2 separate regions of the Homo sapiens genome follow, and region 2 is linked to region 1. Evidence: promoter capture Hi-C in 16 types of primary human blood cells and fetal thymus (Javierre and others, 2016). All regions are on one chromosome and are shown on one strand. The core of a region is centred on a gene start or on the middle of the fragment in contact, and the rest is flanking DNA. Distances in the headings are between cores, read along the strand shown. Region 1 holds the start of XRN2 (5'-3' exoribonuclease 2). Region 2 overlaps CRNKL1 (crooked neck pre-mRNA splicing factor 1).

Evidence for each region. The method cuts DNA at HindIII sites, captures the fragments that hold promoters and counts their contacts. A CHiCAGO score of 5 or more calls a contact.
Region 2: a contact is called between a fragment that was not itself captured here and the fragment with the promoter of XRN2 in region 1, in 4 of 17 cell types (fetal thymus, naive CD8 T cells, non-activated CD4 T cells and 1 more). The highest score is 11.1, in fetal thymus.

The regions. Positions count from the first base shown.
Region 1 is chr20:21,297,134-21,304,580 of GRCh38, forward strand. It overlaps XRN2 (5'-3' exoribonuclease 2), which reads left to right and starts at 6,198. Exons shown (of 30, transcript NM_012255.5): 1 at 6,198-6,340. The coding sequence starts at 6,266. RefSeq lists a silencer at 5,896-6,025 and an enhancer at 6,746-6,795. The HindIII fragment of the contact is 6,284 bases long and covers 1,317-7,447 here.
Region 2 is chr20:20,041,041-20,048,487 of GRCh38, forward strand. It overlaps CRNKL1 (crooked neck pre-mRNA splicing factor 1), which reads right to left. Exons shown (of 14, transcript NM_001278628.2): 4 at 7,303-7,447; 5 at 6,725-6,891; 6 at 4,268-4,446; 7 at 2,452-2,622; 8 at 1,285-1,476; 9 at 526-585. Among named protein-coding and RNA genes, the nearest start is that of CRNKL1, 7.7 kb to the right of the region's middle. The HindIII fragment of the contact is 1,772 bases long and covers 5,312-7,083 here.

The sequences.
Region 1 (7,447 bases), core at 4,948-7,447:
TTTGTGGTTGTATTTTGTCCTTGCTACTGATGGTAGGCTCTTTCAGAGCAATAACTTATTTTACTTATGGTGCTCAAGGTAAGTAGTGAAGACTGTGGATCTTACACCGGTATTTAGTAGTTTGATTTGCAACTATTGAGTGTGGCAGAGACAAAGCTATGTGCTCACCAATCCTATTTCCTTTTCCTGTTCTTGAGCACTCAGACTCCTTCCCAGTCTCTCCTGCAATTGGGTTAGGGCCATGTAACTGGGTTTGGGCCAGCAGAATATAAGTCACCACGAAGCCTGACCCTTAAAAACACCCAGTGCGGCCCTCCTGCCCTGTCTTCCCTTTTGGTAGTGACTGTGGTGGCCACGTTGAGCTGGCAGAATCCCAGGATGAAAACAGCAGGATGCCCAAGTCATCACATGGAAGACCGCTCTGGAGAGTAGCCTGATACCACATAAACTAAGCTAATGAGGTTTCAGGCATTACTTGTTACTACAGCAAAGCCTACCTTATCCTGGAATATTAGTGGAAAAAGAATGTCCATAAATGAAATAGGAAATAATGTAAGACACAATACTATGTACGAAAAGAGTCAGGAGTGATGTGGAAGATGGGAGTGGGCAAGAGTCAGTTTGGGCTCATGTGCTGGGACAGACTTTATGGAGAAGAGGGGAAGAGATAATTTGAATGAGTAGAATTTGAGTTGTAAAAAAGGTGGTGGGAAGACTATGAGTCTCAGCAAAGTGGGAATGAGCAGGAAATATAAGTGAGGGAAAATGAAGACAGAGTCAATATGAGAAAGTTAACACCGTAACAGTGTGGTGGCATGCCTGTAGTCCAAGCTACTTGAGAGGCTGAGGTGGGAGGATTGCTTGAGTCTGGGAGATGGAGGTTGCATTGCGCCACTACACTTCCACCTGGGTTACAGAGAAAGATCCTGTCTGAAAAAGAAAAAAGAATGAACGCACGAGAGAAAGAAAAAGAAAGAAAGAAGGAAATAAAGAAAGAAACAGAGAGAGAAAGAGAAAGAGAGAGAGAGGAAGGAAGGAAGGAAGGAAAGAAGGAAGAAAAGAAAGTTAATACTAGCTGGGGAGTGGCAAAATGAGGCCTGTTAGATTATTAAATTGTCCAAAATAAGTGGAACATGCTAATAAAATTGTGAGGCTTCTTCAAAGCAAACAGTGTGGAGCACAACAGATAGCCATACAATGGTGATCACTTCCTGGTTCTTAGCAAGTTTTGGCCTGTGCACTGGGCATGGTATCACTGAATTTTCACAGAAAACCTATGAAGTCTATGATCCTCATTTTACAGATGAAGAAACTGAAGCTTAGAGAGGTGAAGCATCTTGAAAATGCATTAGTCAGAATTCTCCTGAAAAACAGGACCAATAGGATGTGAGAAGGTTTTATTTGAAGAAATTGGCTCACACGATTGTGGGGGCTTGATGAGTCCAAAATCTGATGGGGTAGGCCAGCAGGCTGGAGACCCAGGGAAGAGGTGCATCTGCTGGCAGAATCCATTCTTGCTCAGGGAAGGTCAGTCTCAGGGGCTGTAGTGCTGCAGTGTCCACTTTCAGGTGGTGCCTGCACATCATGCAGAACCACCTGTAAACCAGCCCTGAGCTTTCTCTTCTCTACATTAAACCCAAGTAGGCCTGGCATTTCTCACTCACTCACTGTGGTCTACCTTTTGGTCCATGTTTCAGTCAACCAACCCATCAGTTATAGCACTAACTCCCTGAGTTGCAACATTAAATGCAGAAATCTTGCTCAATCGGCCCCTATCAATATATTCAGCCTGATTCAATTTTATGTTTCTTCCATCTTTATCCCACACCTTTAATTTCCATTCTCACACATATTCCCTGAATTTCTGACTAAATAAGAAAACTCAAGTAGTTCTTTTGGAGTGTAGTATGCCTCATGGATCACATTTCATGCCTCACCTTTTGGGACTGCTAGGACTTGAGTCTAGTTAAAGTTCTAGAAGCCAAGAGGGGTAATGGGGGTGTGTCCTGAGGAGAATCAGCATTGTCTTGCGAGACAACTGTATCAGGTGAGGTCATGATAGATTCCTTAAGCAATGAAAGGTTAGTTCCCTCAGGTGGGGGTGGAGAGGATATATCTACTGGGGTGGAGAAAATGCTTCTACGGGCAAAGATGACTCATTGGAACTTATGAATTCAATGTCCCCAGTGCCATCAAGGTCTTTCCATATGCCCCCATTCCAACTTTCAGGATCCAATTCGTTCCCAATCAATGCCCTCACTTTAGAAGTAGACAACCTGCAAAGTCAAAAATTCAATCTGCACTTTAATTCAGCCACTTACAGGATGTGATTCGGAGTTGATTTTTAACAATCTTGGCTCTGCAGCTATAGGAGATAAGGGTCTCTTTCAGGGCAGAAATAGAAAGTTTCAGGTCACTTATGTTATACTTGAGCTGGGAATTTGAATCCCTGAGCTCATCCTTTTCTTTTCCCACTTTGTCCAGCAACATTAGGGGCAACCAATCTCATTATACTTGTTATTTTGGCAAATATGTTATAAAGTATCATACGCATGGTCACCCAGATCCTGCTTCTTTTTAGTTTTGGTAATATTTTGTGTAATTCTACTACTTCATCATGCCATAGACTATCAAGTGTTTTATTTACTACTGGAAAGTCATTCCTGTTTTTAATCTAATCAGACTAGAGAACCACTTCCAGAAACCTCAGAACCAATTACAAAAATGCATCCCTAAGATTCCGTTCCGCTTGAACCACTTCTAGTACCAGAATCTGTAGCTGTCAGCGTTCTCTAGAGACATGGAATCAACATGTGGGCATATACAAAGACATTTATTATAAGGATTTGGCTCACGTAACTATACAGACTGGCTAATCCAAATCTGCAGTGTAGGCCAGCAGATTCAGGACTCAGGAGGCAGATTACATCTCAAGGCAGTTGGCTAGAGAATTCCCTCTTGCTTGGGGGCCAGACTTTTTGTTCTATTCAGGCCTTCAACTGATGAAATGAGGTCCACTCACATTATGGAGGGCAATCTGCTTTACTCTACTGATTAAAAATGTTTATCTCAACCCAAAATGGCCACAATTACTGTTTTAAATACATCAGGTTATTCACAATGAATTTTGTAAGGATAAAGAAGGAAAGGAATCACTTGGTAGAAGGACCAATAGTAGGCAAAAAAAAACTGAGAATTTTTTTCTATGATAATTACAATGTTAATGGGGCTTAAAAATGAATTGATGAATATTTAAAAACATCCTAGTTTCCACATATTATATATTTTTCATATTGTTTTTCACATTAATGTAATCCAGATACTAGCTGTGGCCTTCCTCTCTCCCTTTGAGATCTGGGCAAAAATGTTTCAAAACCTCTGGGTTCTCTGCCTGTATAAGTCCAAAGTCTGGTTCAGTATTTCTGCTAATTTATTTTCTTTTTTTTTTTTTTTTTTTTTTTAGATAGCTTCTCGCTCTGTCACCCAGGCTGTAGCACAGTGGTGCAATCATAGCTCACTGCAGCCTTAAACTCTTGGGCTCAAGTGATCCTCCTGTCTTAGTCTCCCCATTTGCTAGGATTACAGATGTGAACCACCACACCTGGCCTCCCTGCTAATTTCCAACACTAATAAATTCTCACCTCTTCTGCTTCTAGAGGTCTGCTATGTTGCCCACCCCGTGGTGGTTCCAAACCACAGTGACCCCAACTGGAGACTTTTTATTTGATTTCTACAAGAAAAACCCATACCAAGCCTGAGTCTGACAGGCTTTACTGGACACATTGGGCCAGGGAAAGTGTCACAATACTTAGTCCATATCCTCCTGCCGCCTTTCAAGTTTCTTCTCTCTTTTACCCACTCCTTCTCTGAGTGCCAAAACTCCAATTTTAGTACTTCTATGCAAACCAATTTCACCACCCAGGTGAATTAGCTTGCACTCCCCAAATTTTGTTACTGGACTCTTTCCTTTGTAAGGGATAAGAATTTAGCCCAAGCCAGCTTAGGGCAAAAGGAAACTTTTGGCTGGGAGTGGTGGCTCACACCTGGAATCCCAGCACTTTGGGAGGCCAAGGCGGGCGGATCACAAGGTCAAGAGATTGAGACCATCCTGGCCAACATGGTAAAACCCCATCTCTACTAAAAATACAAAAATTAGCCGGGCGTGGTGGCGCACATTGGTAGTCCCGGCTACTTGGGAGGCTGAGGCAGGAGAATCGCTTGAACCTGGGAGGTGGAGGTTGCAGTGAACCGAGATGGTGCCACTGCACTCCAGCCTGGCAACAGAGTGAGACTCTGTCTTAAAAAAAAAAAAAAAAAAAAATTTGGCTCACAGAATCAAAGGACAGACTTAATCAAACTGCAGGAAGAGAGGGATTTAACTGGAACCAGGGAATTAACCCTGCTTCTCTCATTGCCTACTGGCAACAAGTCCCAATTCTTATCTTTTAGCGTTCACGCACTGGAAAGATGCAGTCTTAAATTTCTTATGGTTCAAAGCTCAAAAATGCTGGTAAGGCTGGGTGCAGTGGCTCACACCTGTAATCCCAGCACTCTGGAAGGCCGAGGTGGGCAGATCACCTGAGGTTAGGAGTTCGAGACCAGCCTGGCCAACATGGTGAAACCCTGTCTCAACTAAAAACACAAAAATCAGCGGGGTGTCATGGCAGGCGCCTCTAATCCCAGCTACTCGGGAGGCTGAGGCAGGAGAATCGCTTGAACCCGGGAGGTGGAGGTTGCAGTGAGCCTGGATCTTGCCACTGCACTCCAGCCTGGATGACTGAGACTCCGTCTGAAAAAACAAAAACAAAACAATAAACCCTCCCAACCCGCCAAAATGCTGGTTAAGGATTCTAAATGGCTCAACTTGGCCAGCTGTCTATCCCTGAACTGCCTATGGTGTACATGTTCCTATAACAGCACCTCCCAGGGAAACCAGAGGGGCTGCTTCCAGGTAAAAGGAGGAATTTCACCATAGACATAATACTTTGGAATAGTTTTGGCTATCCTTAAGTAAAACACGGGATGACTATTTCTCTAATTTCCACACTAGTAGTTTAAACAAAGTAGTCATCAGACCACAGAGGAGGGGGCAATAAATACTGCCTGTGAGGTAACTCGGCGAAATACTTTCACAGAGGCCTCATGAGGTGAGCATTTAGCATCGTGTGTGATGTGTGTCAAACCAAGAGGGGATTCAGGGAGACTTCCAGGCTTGAGCAAACGGACAAATATACCTCCTCTTCCAGACCTCTCCTTTCATATGGAAAAAATTCGTTTGGGACCACCAGAAAACAAAAGATAAAAGTATCGTGTTAGAACAAGGATGGATTAAAAATGACCTTTGCTTGAACTGAAACAGAAGCTATGTGCATAAGTGACTTAACTCCTCTGTAACTTGGCTTTCTTATCATTTACACGAGGGTGCTAACAGTACCCTCACAAGGTTCAAGTGAAGATTACATAGGACAATCCCTTAGTCAATGTCTTGGTACACTGTAAAGGCTCAGTAAATGCTGGAAAATCATATTAGCAACTATTTTATACCCGTAATTGTAGCTGGAAGATTGTATTGGATGCTAAATACCGGCTAGATTCCATTCGGTAACTATCATAATTATTTATTTGCATAACAATCAAATTATTGGTGCAAAGCAGCCATTATTACTGTAAAATGCTTTAAAATGCTCCTTTTGATAGTCCAGGTACGTACTGCAGCACAAAACTAGGAGAAACCAGGAAATGGAAGTAACGAGTAAGTTTGGATGCTTCGATTCTACCCTAGATTGAGACGGGTGAGCATAGAGGCAAAAAAAGACATTTTCTTCCAAACAAGAGGTGACCAAACGGGCAAGGGAGACCTCCTCCCGGGCATGCAGAGCGCAGCGATTCTGTGCCCAGGGAGCCGGAGGGCTGGGGCTGGGAGATCCCGGCGGAGCCCCGGCAGAGCAGTCGCCCGTGAGCCCCCGCAACTCAGACGCGCTCGGCCTCGCGCTCCGGGGCTGGGACCACCGAGGGCGAGCTGCAGCCTTCGCCACCCGGTCCGCCGCCGGACTCCGCCTCCCACAAACAGCCCGGCAAGGCCCTTTTCCGCCGCTCCCTCATCCAGCGAAGCCTCCTTCCCAGCTTCCCCGGCGGCGGCGCCGTGACGTCACTTCCGTTCTCCAGCGCGCACGTGGGAGGAAGTGCTGGTGCCCTCTGCCGCTGCTCCCGTCTCTTTGGTTACGCTCGTCAGCCGGTCGGCCGCCGCCTCCAGCCGTGTGCCGCTATGGGAGTCCCGGCGTTCTTCCGCTGGCTCAGCCGCAAGTACCCGTCCATCATAGTCAACTGCGTGGAAGAGAAGGTGAGGAGGCGCCAGGCGGCCGCCACACTCGAGCCCGGGCCCCCGGCACGTCTAGGCCGCGGCCCATGGGCTCCGCCGCCTGCCCCCGGGGAGCCTTGCCGGAGCTCGCGCCCTGCTGCCAGCCTCGCGAGCAGTCGCAGCCCCACACGCGATGGGACGCGGGCTGTGGGATTCAGCACCCCGGGGGCGAGGAATTCAGGACCCTCGGCGGGGCAAGGGCCTATAGGGTTCCGAACTCGCAGGAGGGTCGCTCCTCCCCTACTCGCTTTTTCCCGGCACCGGAAGGCCCCGCCCACTGCTTTGTTTCCTCTCCAGACCGCGCATTTTGGGTCTCGGAAGAGGTTCAGAGGCTGTTGTTGAGCAATGCATGCCAGGTCAGCTGAGCTAGCGGGTTATGGATGCACGGATTCGGAGGCCAGCTTTTTGACAACCTTGTAAAGGAATCCCTGGCGGCGACCTTTTCGTTGTTTACCAATTGTGCCGGAAAGGTTTTCTCCTAGTGTTCAGGACCATTTGTTGTTCTGGTTAGATTGGACGCTGAAAGCAGTATGTCAGGTCCAGGATGAGCGCTATAGAATTCTGAGAAGTTACCCTTCTCTGTGTGCCCTGACTACTGAACGGGGTGGGTGCTTGTTGAAAATTTCAAGATTACTGGATGTACTTGAGCAGTACAATTTTTGTTGTTAGTTAATACGTAAGTAGATTTTTGGCCATTATTGAGTTTTGTTTTTATTGTTTTCGTCATTCCATGCGGATTCGATTTTGTGCTCTTAATTAGAATTTCTGGATTGGAAACGTTCAGAGGCACATCACGCGTACCTCACTCCTTAGTTTTTGAAGGCAGTGCTTGCCTGTCACTGTGAACTTATTTCTGCTTTTTTTTTTTTTTTTAACTTTCTTGGCTTCTATCCAAGGAGGAACCAAAAGCCTTGTCTTAGTGACATTCCCACTATTTCTTGTTTTTTTCAAAAAGCAACTGCTAAATTGAATACTTGTTTCCTTTGTAAAATTTTAATCGAACTTTATTGAACTTTACTTGCACGTGGGTTAAACAAAAAGCAACAGTTCTTGCTCTACCCCTTCTCATCCCATTTCTCCACCTTTAAC
Region 2 (7,447 bases), core at 4,948-7,447, 1.3 Mb before region 1:
CACGGTAGCCTCTGCTCAGAACAGACTTTGTTTTGTAGGCATGCTTGTATATGGGCAGAATGTCCTACCTCTATTCTGAAAAGTAACTCAGTCAACACTTCTACAGAAGGAAACACGTTTTGTTTCTCGTGCTGGGAAACAAGGCGGAGGTAACATCTCAACCATCTACACAAGGGGCACATTCATCTGTGCATGCACACACTCACTGTTACCAACAAACCCGCCTGTGTGTCCCCCGCACACGTTGTGTGCTCTCTGCATGGATGTCTTTCTCCTTCCACTCAGACTATTCACATTACCTAGCCTTCTCTGAATTTATATTATTTGTTTGTCAATGCAGGTTGTCCTCCAACCTAGTCTGTGAGCTGTTTTCAGAGGCAAGGAGCATATCTCAGTCTTATTTATGTTGTCCATGGTGGGACAGGGAAGCATTTTATCAATCAATATTATTTCACTGAATTACTTCACAAGTAACAGAAGAGGATTCTGACCTGTTTGAAATGGAACACTTTAGAGCAAACATACCTTTTTGTGAGGAATTAGTTCCAAAGAGGCTTGATACACCTGTCTTGTCCTCTCAGGATCCTGTATTAGGATAAGAAATTTTCACAAAATATTGAAGTCTGCTGCTAACACTCATTTTACTAGTTACTAATTTTACTGATATTGGTAAAAATGTACACCCCCAAAACAGCATGTTTCACAAGTTGTTACTTGCAAACCCTGATTTATGATCTAAAGTATGAACGGCCATGAAACTTCAGTTTAAGAATCACCAACAAGATAGCCACCAAACTTCTAAGCCCTTCTTTGTAGAAAGCCGTTTTGCCTGATGGCAGAAAGAAACAAAGATGTTTCATAGTCTCAGATCAAACCCAGAAGGTTAATACAAATGATTTCTGAAAATGCCACTTGATTTTTGCTAAAAGCAAAAATGCATAATCTAGCCAGAATTACTCCTATTAATGAGCAAATCCAGGAAACTATATTTCACTAAATTAAGGGCTGGTTCACTGTTCTCTTTCAAGCTCCAAGTGATATCTTGTTGTGCCTCAAGTAAAAATCAAACCAAAGTTAAAAAAGCCCCTCACGTGTGGCCACAACAAGCACAGAGGGTTTAAAATGTTGCAGAGCGAATATATAACTGTATGGATGAACAGAAGCCTATAAAAATTTAAAACTAAATTTCCTTCTTTCAAGAATTACAAACATCCACAATAGGTGAGCTGTGAATACAGAAGACAGGAAACCATTATCAGCTGACACATAATTCTGTTTTTTCACCTTTGCCTCCAATTCTTCATAGAGTGCATAGTTGATCCAAAGATAAATGTAGCGCTTCCAGTGCCTCTTCTCCTGAATGGGTGGGACATTGGCAATGGCCCTTTCATAGACTTCTCTCACGGCTTCAGCTTCTGCGTCACTTTCTACCAAGCGCAAGTAATCAAACCATGCATCATAATTGTGTGGATTCGCCTAGAAAGACAACCAGTTTAATAAATAAAAAACAAAACCAAGAGCTGCACTTGCCAGGTTAAGCAAGCTGAAAAAAGGCATCAGGCTGACTTTCTATATTTTAGCACCTTTTCTTCTAAATGTTACATGTTCTTTCATTTTAAAAACACCATCCCTGAGACTGCATAAATAGAAAAGAAACAGGAATACAGAGGATAGATTACTGGCCAGGTGTCCCACAGCAAGGACTCCTTCATCTATAGCCATCACTCTCACGACAGTCAATAATTAGATGCCTATTCTTGCCAATGCATTTGCTTAAATATGTGACTATGTATCATTATGTCTGTAACAACAGAATCGTATCATGCTCACAATTGTTAAACTTGCCTTTCCAATTAATAGCAATTCATCTTTAACATATCTTGCTAACCTACCACCACATTTAATAACAGACTTAGTCCTTTGCTTGGAGGTATCTTAATTAACTTGACTAAGGAAGAGTATTTTTAAATACACAACAGAATACTGAAGGAAAATGACACTCTCTTTGAATTGAAATCAAAATAGTACATTACAGAAAAAGAGATGCCGATGGAACCCTGTCTAGCATACATCTTTTGTTCAGGCAGTTAAGCTCAAAGGTGATGTGCAAAACAGGTTTTTGGACCAATCTCTGACTCTTCCACCTTCTTCCAACAATGAGCTCGAATGGATTCCACATTTCTTTTGCTCCAGTTCTACATACAGTCAACAATCAACAAAACGACTTACAACATGTAAGTGGCAGAGCAAATCCAAGTGTTGTTTGCTTGCCTTTTCTATCAGCCTTGTTTATTCCTACTTGTCTGAAATAGCTGCCAATTGGATCACGGGCACATCATCACGAGAGTAATCACTAGTAGTGCTACTTGCTATTATTCATTTTAGTGTTGCTAGTATTGATGAGCACATCTTGGGTTATCTGCAGAGTTGACCATCCACACCAGTGCTCACCTTCACTTCTTCTTCGTACTGGAATCTCCGTTTGCTCACAATGATATCTTCAATACCCCGCCTATCACCAAACTTCTTCTCAAAGATGGTATAATTTTTAAAGAGTTCTTGGGCATCTTGTTTTGAAATTCTGTCCAGGGCATACTTGTAAATCACTCGTACCCTTTCAAACTAAATGCAGACAGGATGATTACCTTCTATAACACAATATTCTCATGCCAGTCACAACTAGGAGAGTAAATATAACAAAATATTACTTATAAGTTAGATTTTGAGGCCTCATAATATCCAGAGTAAGATGCTTTTCTCCCTCTTGTTGAAGGTTATCTCTGTCAGGATGGACCGGTACTCTGCTTTGAGCTCCATATTTAATACTGTCTACCTAACACTGCCAACTGGATGTCTACTGCACATCTCAAACAGGTCCAAAACTGAGCTTCTGTTTCCTCCCCACTCAAACTGGGACTCTCCCCATCTTCCCAATTTTAGTAGGCAAGGCCTAACCTACAGTCACTTGCTCAAGCCAAAACCTTCAGGTGATCCTCAATTCCTCTTTTTTCCTCATACTCCATATTCACTCTTGCAACATGCCCTACCATTTCAATCTCTTCCACACAGCCATTTGCTTCTCCCCAGCCCCCAGCCATCAAACTCCACTGTTCACCTGGCCCACTTCAAAAGTCTCCCCACTGGTCTCCCCTGGTTCCACTTTTGCCATCTACCCTCATACATTCTCCATGAATTAGCCAGAGGCTCTCCTTAAAATATAAATCATATCCAATCACTGTCCCGCTTAAAACCTTTCAATGCTTCCCACTGGCCCGAACAGAATCTGAACTCCCTAGCATGGTCCGTGCAAGACCTTATATAGGTTGAGTATCTCTTGTCTGAAGCATTTGGTATCAGAAGTGTTTTGGATTTGGGATGTTTCCCCAGTTTGGGAATATTTGCATTATACTTACTGGTTCAGCATCCCTAATCCAAAAACCCGAAGTCTGAAATGTTCCAATGAACATTTCCTTCGAGTGTCATGTCAGCACTCAACAAGTTTCACATTTTGAGTTTTGGATTTTCAGACTGGGAATGCTCAAACCTGTATTTGGATGGATCTCAATTCTGTATTATTTGAACTCCCTTTTTTTTTAAGAAATGGGGTCCTGCTCTGTCACCCAGGCTAGAGTGCAATGGCACGAACATAGCTCATTGTAGTCTCAAACTCCTAGGCTCAAGTGATACTCCTGCCTCAGCTTCCCAAGTAGCTGGGACTGTAGGTGTGCACCACTATGCCCACTCAATTTTTTTTTTTAGAGACAGGGTCTCACTATGTTGCCCAGGCTGGTCTCAAACTCCTGGCCTCAAGTGATCCTTCTGCCTCATCTTCTCAATATTTGAGCTATTTTCATAGGTACAAGGGAAAAAAAGAACTCTCTTATTTGTAGGGCAATCTCTGTTTCCATTCTAAATGTTTTCTGTTCTAGGGCTTTAAGCTTTTTGTTTCCCATATTTATTATCGGTTAAGTCCTTTACTTAGGATGCCAAAAGACTAGTTCTCAGTTTACGGGCATTCAGACTAAAAGGCTTAATTTTCAAACAAAGCACAATAAAATTAAGACAGTTATAATACAATCTATAATCAGCTCCCATCTGTAGCTTAGTCACATATATATGCTGTTCTCTGTGAGAAGCTGTGTTTTTGTATTTTGAAAACATCTTTCCAGGGATATGTCAGTAAGAAAAAATGGAAATGAACTCACCATGCACAAAATGTAATCTTTGCTAAGCTGTTTTACAGTATAATGAAGTTAGGTATACTTACCTCTTTCTGATTTTCTTCAAACTTGGCAAAGGCAACATAAAGGTGCTCATCCATATGTTCATCTCCAAAGAATTCCACAGCTCTCTCATACACTTTCCGTGCATGGGCAAAATAAGCATGTTTTTCTTCAAAGCGGGCATACTTGATCCAGTTCTTAACATCAGGGTGCACGAGGACAAGTGCAAGGGAATTAAGGAAATCCCAGGCAAAACAGCATGGCTTAAAAAAATAGTAAGTAAGTAAACACCAAAACCATACCAAAGCCTGGAAACTCCAAAAATTCAAACTACAACTCTAGGGGAACAAAACACATACAAAAGTGTAGAATTAAACAGTGGCTTCTGTGAGAGCAGGGCCACGCCTGTTCATCTCTATTTTCCTCCAGTGCTTAGTTAAGATTTTAGTGGTGGGTATAAACTCGAGTTGGAAGCAAAGAAAAATCTCAACCCAGGTTACCAACCATGTGATCTTGGATAAGTCACTGAACTTAGACGTCTAAGTCTCAGCTGTTTCATTTGTAAACAGGGAAAAATAATGCCAGCCTCACTGGATTACTGCCAGCTTTAAATGAGAAAATGTATGTAAAGCCCTTAGCACAGTTTCTAGCCAAAAGAACATGGCACCGTAAGCGGTCAATAATGGTCTGGTCATTAAATAGCACCAATTATATTAAAATATGAATACTTGAACTAATAATTAAGAAAAAAACATGCTATAAAAAGAAAACTGTTAACTAGAGTCAAAGCAGAAAGTTTTGAATTGTCATTTTAATCTATCTTCCTTGAATAAATCATTAATTTCCAAAGTAGTAATATATTCCAATATGGCAAAGAAGAGCATCAGTTCTGAAGCTGCTCTACTAGGTTCACATTCTATTTCCATCAGCACCTGTGAGAACCCAGTCAAGCTACTTAATCTCTCATGCCTCAGCTCCCTCATCTGTAGGACAGAGAAGTTCCTACACTGCAAGGATGTTATGAGGATTAAACAACAATATCTGTAAAGTACTTAGAATACTGCCTGGCACGTAGCAAGTGCTATAAAAGCTTTCGTCAAACTAATAATATTAAAATTAGTAGACATAATTAAGATCTTAACATTGTCACCTCAACAGAGAAGAGTAAAAAAATAAAAAGATCTTAATACTGCATAATAAAGTTGACTCTCATTATTTCTGGTAGTTATGTTCTATTTAGTCAATGCGAACACTTAATTATTGAGTACTGAACCACTGCTCCTAGGAGAAACGTGTATATATACAATCTCACATTCATCATCATCTTAAATCCTAAAAAGAACTCATCCTGGCAGATTCTATCTTCATTATTTTGTAAGAAAAGTGGTTCAGAAATGTTAAGTGACTGGACTGAGGCTGCCCCACTGACAGGGATTCAAACTCCCCGACTGGCCCCAGAGCCACAGCTCCTTGCACTACATGGCACTGGCCCTTCCTGTCTCCAAGCTCTAGGCATGGTTATATGAGGTTAAGACCAGAAGGCAAGCCTCACCTTGTTGGACTTCATGCTCTGTGCATGTCCACAAATGACTGTGAAAGTGCCACAATTACTGATTTTGGGGGTTACAAATAAATTTTAGCAAATACGTGATTTTGCAAACATGGAATCTGCAAATAGTGAGGAATGACTGTACTTCAGTTTCTAAAAGTGCTTTCATGTGTATCATTTAATCTTCGCAACAGCCCAACAAAGGTGTTTTTATTCTTGTTTTTAAGAAGAGGACACCAACTCTCAAAGGAGTTAAATGACTCTCTGGAGCCACACAGCTAGTAAACAGTAAACCTTGGATGAACTCCAGTAAGGTAGTAATGACCAACACAAACCTTAGAAAAACAGGACTGGCAATGGCAGCCAGGACCTTAGTACAGTTAGTCCTCCAGCCATGGGTTCCATATCTGTGGATTCAACCAACCTGAGATAAAGTATTCGTGAGAAAAAAGTGCTTCTGTATTGAACATGTCGTTTTTTTGCTTATTATTCCTTAAAATATACAGAATAACAATTATTTATATAACATTTACATTGCATTAGGTATAAGTAATCTAGAGATTATTTGAATTATATGGGAGGCTATGCATAGGTTACATGCAAATACTACATCATTTTATATGAGGGACTTAAGCATCACCGATTTTGGTATCCCCTTGAGTTCCTGGAAACAATCCCCCAGGAATATCATTTTCCACAAGGAAACATTAGCTTTTAGCATTACAATAAAATAAACCCAAACTCTCACTAGAAAAGACTAGTTACCCAGAATACAAATTTTCATTCTGACCAATCTCTTTCCCTACAAAACATAGGGAAGCTGATAAACTGGCATTCTTGACTTTGAGCCTGACATTAATGACTGTGTGTCCTGATCATGAGACATCTCTACAGGAGCAGCAGCAGCATCCAGGACAATCATGGCACCATACAGATCTCGTCCAAAGGATATATCGCTCATAAATGGTGCGGGCCCGATCCACCTCTTTGTATCTCAGCTCAAAGTTGATGTAGGAGTGCCAGGCTTGCTCCTCAGGCTGCCACTCCATCCAGCGCTCAAACACCTGCCGGGCACCGGCAACGTTTCCCAACATTTCCTCCATGTACGTGTACTTGTACCTGTAACAAAATCACCCGAAAATATCTGCTGTGGTTTAGTTCTTCCATTGTTGAATGGGAAGAAGATTGAAGATTTTACCTTTCTTAAAGGTTAAATCAAACATGTTTTGTCATTTGTATGTAAATCTGAAAAAGGATGAACCATTGGAAAAAAAGATTTTTTTTTCTTAAAAGTTGCCTAGTTCAACAAGAAGCTTATGAATAAAAGATTGCAATCAAAATTTTAGTTTTGATTACATAGCTATAGAACATTACGATTATGACTTAATAGACTATGGGACATAACAGCATTTATGTCTGAAGAAAAAGTAGGATATCAAATTAAACTATCATCATGTAAATAAAATAAATACAGAAGATGTGGAACTTTGCTAGTCTATAAAAGGCTGTTTTGTTAGATCAGAAACTTACCAGAACTGATTAACTCGAGGCAGCGTTGTTATGGCCCGGTCCCAGATATTTCGAGCATGGTTGACTTGGCGATTCTTCATTTCCATTTCTGCGTATTTCAGCCAGAGTGTAATATTTCGGTAGTCTACATCTAAAGCACGCTCGT